3 separate regions of the Homo sapiens genome follow, and all the other regions are linked to region 1. The links are contacts of gene promoters, found by promoter capture Hi-C in human tissues and cell types (Jung and others, 2019). All regions are on one chromosome and are shown on one strand. The core of a region is centred on a gene start or on the middle of the fragment in contact, and the rest is flanking DNA. Distances in the headings are between cores, read along the strand shown.

The links. Contacts are between HindIII fragments. The study calls those that stand out against the background at their distance.
Region 2: a contact is called between a fragment that was not itself captured here and the fragment with the promoter of SH3BGRL3 in region 1, in 6 of the 25 tissues and cell types used here (dorsolateral prefrontal cortex, heart left ventricle, hippocampus and 3 more).
Region 3: a fragment that was not itself captured here is called in contact with the fragment with the promoter of SH3BGRL3 in region 1 in 2 of the 25 tissues and cell types used here (bladder and hippocampus).

The regions. Positions count from the first base shown.
Region 1 is chr1:26,278,333-26,281,950 of GRCh38, reverse strand. SH3BGRL3 (SH3 domain binding glutamate rich protein like 3) reads right to left here and starts at 1,865. Exons shown (of 3, transcript NM_031286.4): 1 at 1,748-1,865; 2 at 1,019-1,186; 3 at 429-893. The coding sequence starts at 1,795. The coding sequence ends at 828. CEP85 (centrosomal protein 85) reads right to left here. Exons shown (of 14, transcript NM_001319944.2): 14 at 3,143-3,618. RefSeq lists enhancers at 570-1,456, 1,457-2,344 and silencers at 1,584-2,033, 1,510-2,081. The HindIII fragment of the contact is 5,211 bases long and covers 432-3,618 here.
Region 2 is chr1:26,101,905-26,105,522 of GRCh38, reverse strand. No RefSeq gene overlaps it. Among named protein-coding and RNA genes, the nearest start is that of PDIK1L, 8.1 kb to the left of the region's middle. The HindIII fragment of the contact is 4,487 bases long and covers 1-3,618 here.
Region 3 is chr1:26,128,362-26,131,979 of GRCh38, reverse strand. No RefSeq gene overlaps it. Among named protein-coding and RNA genes, the nearest start is that of PDIK1L, 18 kb to the right of the region's middle. RefSeq lists a silencer at 3,028-3,322. The HindIII fragment of the contact is 7,689 bases long and covers 1-3,618 here.

The DNA of each region.
Region 1 (3,618 bases), core at 616-3,115:
ACTTCAACACCGCACAAAGCCATTTTGCCACTAGACCCATGCCCCCAAATTAGCAGAACTGCAGCTGGGTACCCACCTCCCATGATACACTCATTCTTAGCCATTGTGCTCCAACACAGGCGCATGGGATGGCCACACTCACTGACAGGCATGGAGATGTGCACTACACACCAAGGCACAAGCATGATATGGACACATGCATGTGAACTGGAGGGTGGCCCACCCAGACATCTCCAGAAACCACTGGTCCATACAGGTATTTGTGTGTCAGACATATCCAAACACATGCACTAACAAACACAGAGGTGACAGTCACAAGAGAACAGCTCAGCCACCCTTCCCACAGAGCAGTCTCAGCACAGTCACAACTACCAACCTTGCCCAGGGCAGGGACCCAGGAGGCCCAGGCCACAACCAACCAGACACAGTGCCAATGGAACAGGACATCATTTAATTGCCTCTAGGGTCCTCCTGGGAGAGGGACTGCGGGGCCTTTGGCAGAGCTCTGGCTGATGGAACCAACAGAGGTGCCCATCAGCCAGTGCCAGGCAGGATGGCGGCCCCAATGCTTGGCTGGGGGCAGCCAGCATTTGGGGCTGTTGCTTAAGACAATTTCTGAGACTAATGGGTAAGGAATGTTGCCTTTAGATGGAGGAGAGGGGACTACATTTAGAGAGGAGGGAGGAGAAGTGGCCTGCATTGGGGGAGGGACTCTAAGGTTAGGTTAGGAATGACAGGGAGTTGGTCAAAAGGTCCTTCATGGCCAGGTGAAGGCTGGGGGGAGTGTGGTGATGGAGTCCAGCAGGGGAACTCTGGACAGGCTTGACTCAAGCCAGCTTCAGGAACTCCTGCAGCGTGTTTTGTTCCACAGCCTCCACGAAGAGCTCATAGTCCTGGAGAAGGGGAGGCGAGGGGTGGTCACCTGAATGCAGGGGGCCCAAGTGCTTTGTGGCAGATATGACCCTGGCTAGAGTCCTCTTCCAACACTCCCCCCACCCCCCCGTCCCCCAGCCCATACCCCACAGTACTGGTCCCCGTTGACAATCTGGGGTGGGGTGGCCTTGGGGTTGCCTGCCAAGGCTCGCATCTCATCCCTCAGGGCGTTGTCCTGGGAGATGTCCACTAGCTGGTATTGGATGCGCTTCCCATCCAGGATTCGGGTCACCTCGCTCTGCTGGGACTTGATCTGGGGACAGAGGGTGGGTAGGGGTTAGTGGATAGGCTGGAGGATTTATGGGGGAAATGCTGGGCAGGGTGAGAGAGGCTGTGACCAGGAGCTTTTGTCCCCCCATTCCCCTCCACACTAGGGGAGGGTTCTGGCCTCTAGGAGTTGGGAGGATGAGTCAGGCTTGAGGTGGTGCAGGATGAAGAGAGGGATTATCAGCCACGGGGGAGGGGGTCAGAGTGAAGGGAAGTGGGATCAGGCTCAGGGTGGGGAGGGGAGGGGAGGGCAGGCTGCGGTCGTGGTCAGGGTCAGCCCGGTAGTGGGAGTGCAGAGAATGGGTGTGGGGTTGATGGGGGATGGGCACGGGAAGTTCATGCCGCGGCTGCAAAGGACCCAGGATGCCCGATGAAGACATTCAGGATGGGGCCTCGGGACCGGGTCCGGGAGACCGTGCCCAGCACCTCGCCGACGCACTCCCCCCACCCCGCCCCCGTCCTGGGGGTGGGTCCCGGGCGCTAGGGTCCAAAGCACCGGGATACAGCCCTGCGCTTTCCCCCAGCGCCAGTCCGGGCGCGCACTTACTTCGCGGGAGCCGGTGACCGACGTGCTGTAGACGCGCAGGCCGCTCATGCTGGGGGTAGACAGACGGGCCGGCGGGCAGAGGGCGGCGGTAGCGGCAGCTGCACTGCCGGGAGACGACGCCGCCGCCGTGCTCGGGAGCGGTTTCCTTCCTGCTCCGCCCGCCAAGTCATCGCGCTCGGGACCAATGGGCGGCGCGGGCAGGCGGGGTGGGACCTGCGCGACACCGCCCCGCACGCCAGAGGCCCCTTCCCTTCCCCCTCGGTTACCAGGCGCGCAACGGACCCGTCCCACGCAGGGCGCCCCTTCTGCGGCTGCCCTGATCGTCCTTTTCGGCCCTTCCCTGATCTGGAGCTCAGTGTGAGACTGGGGAGGGGCCTGGGTGGCAGGACAGGCCCGGGAGAGGGTCTGGCAGAAGCCTCCCTCTCCAGCCGCACACAGGTTTGGTGCATCCAACTCCCCAGCCACGAGAGCCGCTCTCTCCAGGAGGAGGTGCTCTAATAGCACAGGGAAGCTTGGGGCTTTGGAAGGTTTGAGCTGCTTTCAGACCCAAAGTTCTCTAAGAACCTTGCTCCAAGGGATCCCTCGCTCCACCACCCAACACGCACCACTAACCCTAGGGGATAGGAAGCATAGGACAGCAGGAAGAGCCCATGCTTAGAGATTTTCCCCCAAGTTCCTCTCCACTCAGGTGGGAAGGTTTAGACAAGGAAGGGTGATAGCAGGACGCAGAGGCCACACCCTCAAGGAACCAGATGGAGACCAAGGCTGACAGCTGGAAAGCGTGGCGGTAGAGGATGATGTCAGGACTCGAGAGCCTAGGCTCAAGCTGACCCTTAAGATCCACCCCAGGTCTTGGGGTGGTCCAAGCTCAACCCCAGCTCCATGCTGCAGATGGCATTCCCAAACTGCTACTACTCCCAGCAAGAATTCAGCGGTTGAGGGGGCAGACTCCAGCAACGAGCCCAACTTTGGAGACCTAGCTGTCTGGCACTCAACATCATGCTTCTCAGATGTCCCCCTGGTCCAGGGCTCAGGCAGGTTAACAGCCCAGAAAGACAACCCTTGCTCTGGTAAAGCCACTTCCTCACAGCAACCCAGAGGCTGCCAACTTCCTGAGAGGACTGCTGAAACTTTCCAGTGACAAACTTCTGTTATGACTCAGGGAAGGTTTGCCCAAGAGAAAGTGAGTGGGAAGAGATCTGGTTCTATAGAACGACAGAGGAGCAGAGGTGGCAGAGATAGATAGGGACATGAGGCTGGCTGGACCTGCCAAAGGTTCCTCCACGCTGCTGCCTGGGGGACCTGGCTGAACACCCAGGTGTTTGGCTCTAACAAGCCAAAGTGAGGGGTAGAATAGCGTGGTGGTGGTGATGGAAGGGTATGGAAAACTGAGGAGTCTGTTAAGATACTTTATTTTATAATCAAAATACGCAATACAAACAAATGGACATAACAAAGATTCATATAAATAACTGGTTATAAACTTTATGAGGAAAAATACCCGTCAGCATGGTGGCTGGGCTCCCAATGCACAGGGTGGAGACCAACCAGGCGGCTCTGCCTTTAAGCAGCAGGAGCCCAGAGGCTGAAGGGCTGGCTGGGTGGGGCTGCTCTGAATGGAAGGGATAAGTCACTCCATAAATAAAACACAAACTTGTAAAAACACTTAAGAAAGAGCCTCATTCAGGCCCAGGCATGAGGTCCAAGATGCTGCCAACAGCCCAAAGCTTAGCAAAAATCTTGTAGTGGCTGACTGGCCCACACGTGGCCCCTGCCTGGCCTGGCTCCAGATCTAGAGGAGGCACGGCTGGCCCAACAACCAGATACTAACAAGTGTGAGATGCTCCCTAAACCAGGAGGCAAGAAAAACC
Region 2 (3,618 bases), core at 823-3,322, 180 kb after region 1:
GTTGGTCAGGCTGGTCTCAAACTCCTGACCACAGGTGATCCGCCCATCTCAGCCTCCCAAAGTGCTGGGATTACAGGTGTGAACCACAGTGCCTGGCCGAAAATAAGTCTTTTTCAATTCAGCACACGTGCATTATGGATGAAACGAAATGAGGCCTGGAATATACTTTAAAATACTCCACTATCAGCACAGCAAACAGAGAGGGGAAGATTGGCAAAATGTTGATAGTTGTTGAAACTTAGTGCTGGGCACGTGAGGCTTATTATACCATTCTACCTTTGTGTATGTTTGACTCTTTCCATAATAAAAAGTTAGACAATCACGCTCAAAAAAGGAAATGAGTATTTTGGACAAATGGGAACTTGGATGTAGCAAGCCTGCCCCCTGGTGGCAGGTTCCATTAGTGAAGCTGATGCTCCAGTCTCACTAAAGCAGGTCTGAATTCCCAGACCTGTCAAGATCCAAGTCCTTTATCCCGCAAGAACCCTACGAAGTGGAGAATATGAGCATAGCCTTTTACATCTGGAGAAACTGAGACTCAAAGGGACTCAGTAACTTAGGTTCCTAATAAGTCACTGGTGGAGCCAAGACTCCTGGAGTCTTTGGACTCCAGGTCCCCAGCCCCATAAATCAACATGAATCTGAGCCTTACTTTTCCTATCTGAAGAGAGGTCACATGGGAAGAGGCAAATGGGCTGTCCCTAATTAGAATGGGTCCACAGGAAGCAGATTATCATGGAGCAATTTTACCTATAAACTATAGATAAATAAATACAAATCGGTAATATAAATAAATAATAGGTAATATTCATACTAACTTCTGTGCGAGGCACTGTGCAAAGTACTGTTTATAGAGTGATCTCATCTAATCTGCACAGTGACCCTGTAAAGCATGTGCTATTATTGTCCTCCCTTTTACAACTGAGGAAACAAAGGTTCTAAGAGGTGAAAGAACTTGTCCAAAGTCACACAGGCACTTCAATTGGGGTCTAACTGCGTGTGTGTGTGTGTGTGTGTGTGTGTGTGTGTGTGTGTGTTTGAGATGGAGTCTCGCTCTGTCCCCCAGGCTGGAGTGCAGTGGCACAATCTTGGCTTACTGCAACCTCCGCCTCCTGGGTTCAAGCGATTCTCCCACCTCAGCCCCCTGAGTAGCTGGAATTACAGGCGCCCGAGTAGCTGGAATACAGGCGCATGCCACCACTCCTGGCTCATTTTTGTATTTTTAGTAGAGATGGGGTTTCACCATGTTGGCCAGGCTAGCCTTGAACCCCTGGCTTTAAGTGATCTGCCCGCCTTGGCCTCCCAAAGTGCTGGGATTTCAGGCATGAGCCACCATGCCCGGTTGTGTGTGTGTGTGTTTTAAAAGACTTTATTTTTAGAGAAGTTTTAGGTTCACAGTGAAGTTGAGTGGAAATTACAGACTTCCCATATACACCCTGTCCCCAAGGCACATCTTGGAGTCTTTCTTCCCACCAGATTGCTGACCCTGAATTTCTCCTCTGGAGAAATTATGAGAGGCATCATTGATGCATTGTTAGAGACCTAGTACCCACTGAGCCAACCACAAGTTGTTATCAAAATGCCACAATGAGGTCATTAAGGGCGACTGGCTAGGCCTGTCAGTGAATGTTTCCGGAGCAGCTCCTAACTGCTGTAGCAGAGAGAATCCCCGACAGTGTCCCCTCCCTTCTTCTTCCCAAGCTTGGGGAGCCCCAGCCCCATTTCTTTTCTTTTCTTTTCTTTTTTTTTTTTTTTTTTGAGATGGAGTCTTGCTCTGTTGCCTAGGCTCGAGTGCAATGGCACAATCTTGGCTCACTGCAACCTCTGCCTCCTGGGTTCAAGCGATTCTCCTGCCTGAGCCTCCTGCGTAGCTAGGATCATAGGCATGCGCCACCATGCCTGGCTAATTTTTGTATTTTTGATAGAGATGGGGTTTTGCCATATTGGCCAGGCTGGTCTCGAACTCCTGACCTCAGGTGATCCACCCACCTCGGCCTCCCAAAGTGTTGGGATTATAGGCGTGAGCCACTGTGCCCAGCCACCCCAGCCCCATTTCTGCAGGGGGAGGCTGAGGGAGAAACTCCTTTAGGAAGGGTATTAGCTTTGGCACTAACACGCTGTGTCATCTTGAGCAAGAAAGACTCCCCCCTGCTGTGGGCCTCAGTCTCCCCATCTGCAAAATGAGGGGGTCTGACCAGCTCATCTCTAAGGATCCTTATAGCTCCAACACTCTGATTCTTGAATCCTACACCTCCACTATGCTTGTAATAAGAAGATCAAAATGTTTATTTCTGATCCAGCCCCTGAGACAAGTGATCTGGGGGCCCACAAAGGTCTTGCACCAGGTATAACATTAGCTGTTTTTGTCTTTGGATGGGTCCTAGTTGTCTTCTTGGTGAGGACTGAGAACAGCTGGAGCAGCTGATGGTTAAGACCCAGGTTCACATCTCCTGCCCCTGGGTCCAAGAGCTGCTGGGGATGCCACCATCTGAAAACCATGCTGGATGGGGGTGTTGGGAGTGTCCCAAACTGAGGATTCACCCGACTCCTCAGCAGGTCCTGAAGTGTTAAAGCTTCGGCTTCCTCTGATTCTCTGGCCTCTTCTGGATGCTTCATGTTGCAAGAGCAGAAACTCAACTCAAAGTGACTGAAAGGAATGATTGGTACATTTACCTAAGAGAAATGGAGGTGGGAGGGCTAGCTTCGGGAAGGAAGTTTGATTCAGCAGCTCACATGTCACCAAAGACTCTAGTTTCCTCTGTTCTGCCTCCCATGATGCTGCCTTCATCTTAAGGCTGGCTTCCCTTGTGGGCCTCGGGGTCACCAGTGGGAATTCAGCCTTATGAGATCATATCCTGCAGGAATGAGAAAGTCAACTTCTCTATTCCTCAAACAACATTCCTGAAATTAAGTCTTGTTGGACCTGATTGGCTAGGGGCTAGGGAGTAGGGGGTAAGAGATAGGGTTGTGGGCCCCTCCTTGACCAAGCTCTGTGTCCTGAAGGATGGGGCTTACTGGCAGGCTTAAATTCAGAGGCTGGTGGGTGGCTAACAAATGTCTTGACATATACCCCTCTCTTCAGAAGTCAACTAGTGCCTGGCACATGGTGGCACTTTGTTCGTTAAGTCAACAGCTATTTGGTGAATATCCACCACGTGCAAGAAATTGTGCTTGATGCTGAGAAAAAGCAGTGAACAGAAAGATAAGGTCCCTGCCCTCATGGACTTTCTCTGGGAGGGGAGACAGACATATAAATATGCAGACAGTACAATTCAACCAGTGCCAGCTGAGGTTACATAGCCCAGGGGAGGAAATCCAAACTGTGCTTCTGTGGAGGGGAATGGCGGGCAGGAAAGCTTTAGAGAGGAGGTAGCATTTACACTGGGCCTTAAATTTAGCCATTCCACAATGTATTCATATTTCAAAGCATCATGTTGTACATATGAGTAAATAAATACAATTTTTGTCAATTTAAAAAATAAATAGAAATTTGAGGGTCAGAGTGAGACACTCCTTTAAGCTGACATTCTTCAAATATTTGCTCTATGGTTATTTAGAGCAGGGGCTGGGAAGGAGGCACAGATAACCACACTTAGCCTCTCGATGGTCCTGACCTCC
Region 3 (3,618 bases), core at 558-3,057, 150 kb after region 1:
ACTAGCCTGGACAACATGGCGAAACCCCATCTCTACAAAAAAATACAAAAATTAGCAGATGCCTGTAGTCCCAGCTACTAGGGAGGCTGAGGCAGGAGGATGGCTTGAGCCCAGGAGGCAGAGGTTGCAGTGAACCGAGATCGCACCATTGCACTCCAGTCTGGGTGACAGAACCAGACCCTGTCTCAAAAACAAAAAAACAAAAAAACAAAAAAATTGGGGGAGATTCTCAGTCATTATTACCTCAACTATTGCTTCTGTTCCTTTCTCTCCTTTTTCTCCCTGTCATAGTCCCATTACATGTAGGTTATACCTTTTATAGTTGGCCGACAATTATTTGATATTCCGTTCTTTAAAAAAATTTTTTTAGACGTTTTCTCTTTGCTTTTCAGTTTTGGAAGTTTGTTTTGTCATATGTTCAAGCTCAGAAATTCTTTCCTCAGCCATGTCCGGTCTGCTAATGAGCCCATCAAAAGCATTCTTCATCTCTATTACAGAGTTTTTGATTTCTAGCATCTTTTTGACCCTTAGAATTTCCATTTCTCTGCTTACATTATCCATCTGTGTGTGCATATTGTCTACTTTTTCCATTGAAGTCCTTAGCATATTAATCACAATTTAAAAAAAAATCCCTGGCCTGATAGTTCCAGGATTCTTGCCATAACTGACTCAGATTCTGATGATTGTTCAGACTTTTCAAATTGTATTTTTTGCTTTTTAGTATCCCTTGTACTTTTTTGTGAAAGGTGGATGGAATGTACTGGCTAAAGGAACTGCCATAAATAGGCCTTTAGTAATGTAGTAACATTTGGGGATGGTGGGTGTTCTATAATCCTATGATTTGGTCATGGGCTTTTCATAGGTGAGCCTGTGCCCTTGGACTGTGAACTTCACCAGTGCTTCTCTTGGTGAAGTTCCCTTAGGTGGTCAGGATGGCTAGAGGGGGCTGGAATACCCTCAGATAGGTTAGGGTCAGCTGATAAAACCACAACAGATGAGGCTGTGGTAAAATAGTTGCTCCTGAGGGTTGTCCTTGTTAAGAACAGAATGTTCAGGCAGGTTTCAAAATGGTTCCTTTCCCCCTCCCGTTAGCAGAAGAATGAGCACCTGTGAGGATCTGGCAGAGCTCCTGGAGGTAATAGTGTGGGGAGCCTCCTGTGATTGGGTCCCCCTGGGCTTTTTAACTCTCAGAGTTGACCATACTAAGCAATTCATCAATTACAGTTTAGGTTTTCCTACCCCTGCACCTTTTCCACACTAGTAAATTGTGATATTCTGTATCTACCAATGCATCTCTCCAATTACAGGGGCAGCAGTTTGCCCTGTGACCTCACTGCTCTGACATATCTAAGAAGAGTGGTTGATTTTTCCATGTGTTCAGCTTTTTAATTGTTGTTAGGATGGAGTGGTGACTTTTAGGCTCCTTTTGTGCCAAACCAGAAATTAGAAGTCCTAATTTTTTTTTTTTTTTTTTGAGTTGGGGTTTTGCTTTGTCTCCAGGCTGGAGTGCAGTGGTGCGATCTCGGCTCACTGCAGCCTCCAACTCCTGGGCTCAAGTGCTCCTCCCGCCTCAGCCTCCTGAATAGCTGGGACTACAGGCATGTGCCACCACACCAGAACCCCCAGCTAATTCCTTTTTTTTTTTTTCCCGGTAAAGATGAGGTCTCATTATGTTGCCCAGGCTGGTCTTGAACTTCTGGACTTAAGCAATCCTCTTGCCTTGGCCTTCCGAAGTGCTAGGATCACAGGCATGAGCCACTGTACCTGGCCCATTTCTAATATTTTTAATTGGCTGGCAGACATTTTGAATTTTATATTGTTGAGAAGTGGAATTTTTGGACTCAAGTATTTTTGAGCTTTGTTCTAGCACATTATGTTACTTAGAAAAAAATGTATTTTGTTAAATAAAATGTATAGGAGACCATTATTTTGGACTAGCCTCGTACACTAGCACTAGCAGACCGAGCCAAATCAGAATGGAGTCACTCATGCTGGGTGCCACATAATTAAACTGAACTCTGAAACAGGCCAGTCCACCCCCCACCCCGCTACCAAAAAAATACCCCCAGGAGATTCGCAGCAACCAATCAAAAGGGGCCCAGTTTACCTGAGCTGGCATGAAAATGAAGTTCCCTCTGTTTTTGTTGTTGTTGTTGTTTTTAATTTTTAAATTTTAATCTTTTTATTTATTTAGAGACTGGTTCATTTTTGCTAAATTGCTTGTCTTTCCGAGTTTCATAGCAGAGTTTTTGGTCTGTTTAAATTCATTATAAATAGACATTTAGGATGTCAGCTTCTGACCTCATGGACTGTGAGCTTACAAGTCCCCTGGTCTGTCACAGGCCATGCATATGAGGAATAAAAAATCAAAACATTTAAGTAATTTTGTTATAAAGAAATATAGTTATGCACCCCAAACACAGAAAACATTTCATTAAAAATTGGTCTTAGTCCTGCTGGGCGTGCCAGTGATTCTTTTAGGTTTGGACCTTGACTGAGAGAATTTCCAGTCGCTCTCTCCTCTCTGGGCAGAAGTTCCAGATCCTCTCTGGGCAGAAGTTCCAGATGATCTGATGGGCAGGGACTTAGGCTGTGTCCCCTGGGGGCTCTGGTCCACTAGTTGTTGGGACCGCCTGGGAGGGCGCAGCAACCCACTACGCCTGTGTCTGTTTTAACTCTATAAGGAAAGTAACTTTGAAACAACCAGACAATTTTCTGTTCTCTGTTTCTGCTTTTCTCAGGCCTTTTCTGTCTATAAAACCATACTTTTCTGCTTGGCTTATCGGAATACTCACTGTATTTTATAGAATAAGGTGTTGCCTTTTTCTAGAATCACAAAGAAAAGCCAATATAGATCTTTAAATCAAATTTGCTATAATTTTGTCTGTGTACCTTTCAAGACTTACTTTTAAGCTTGGATAGACAGGTCCAGAATAGCTGTTAGCCTTGGCCTCACTACTGAGACAATACTCTTCTGTGATGCTCTGTATATTGGAAGAAGGTCTTTCTGTTCTGGCTGGTGGAAATATCAATTATTCTTGGTCCTGTGTGAGCTCCAGGATTGTTCTGCCTAATCCTTTCAGGGGATCTTTCCTGCATTCAGGTCTGATAGTTTCTTCATAAGCATGACTGATTAGTACTTAGCTGATACTGTGTGTGTGAATGTGAGTGTGTGAGTGTGTGTGTGTGTGTGAGAGAGAGAGAGAGAGAGAGTGTGTGTGTGAGTGTGTATGTTTTCTTTAAGGCAGGTCTTGCTCTGCCGCCCAGGGTGGAGTGCAGCGTGGTGATTCCAGCTCACTGCAGCCTTGACTTTCCTGGGTTCAGGTGATTCTCCCAACTCAGCCTCCAAGTAGCTGGGACTATAGGCAAACACCATCACACCTGGATAATTTTATTTTATTTTTTGTAGAGACAGGGTTTCACCATGTTGCCTAGGCTGGTCTCCAACTCTTGGGCTCAAGTGATCATTCTGGCTTGGCCTCTTAAAGTACTGGGATTACAGATGTGAGTTACCTGGCCCTGCCTCAGCTGATGTCTTGAAAAAAACTTTCTGCAAAGGTCTGGAACTCTCACCGACAAATAAAAAACAGGACAAAAAAGAAAAGAAAAAAAATAAAC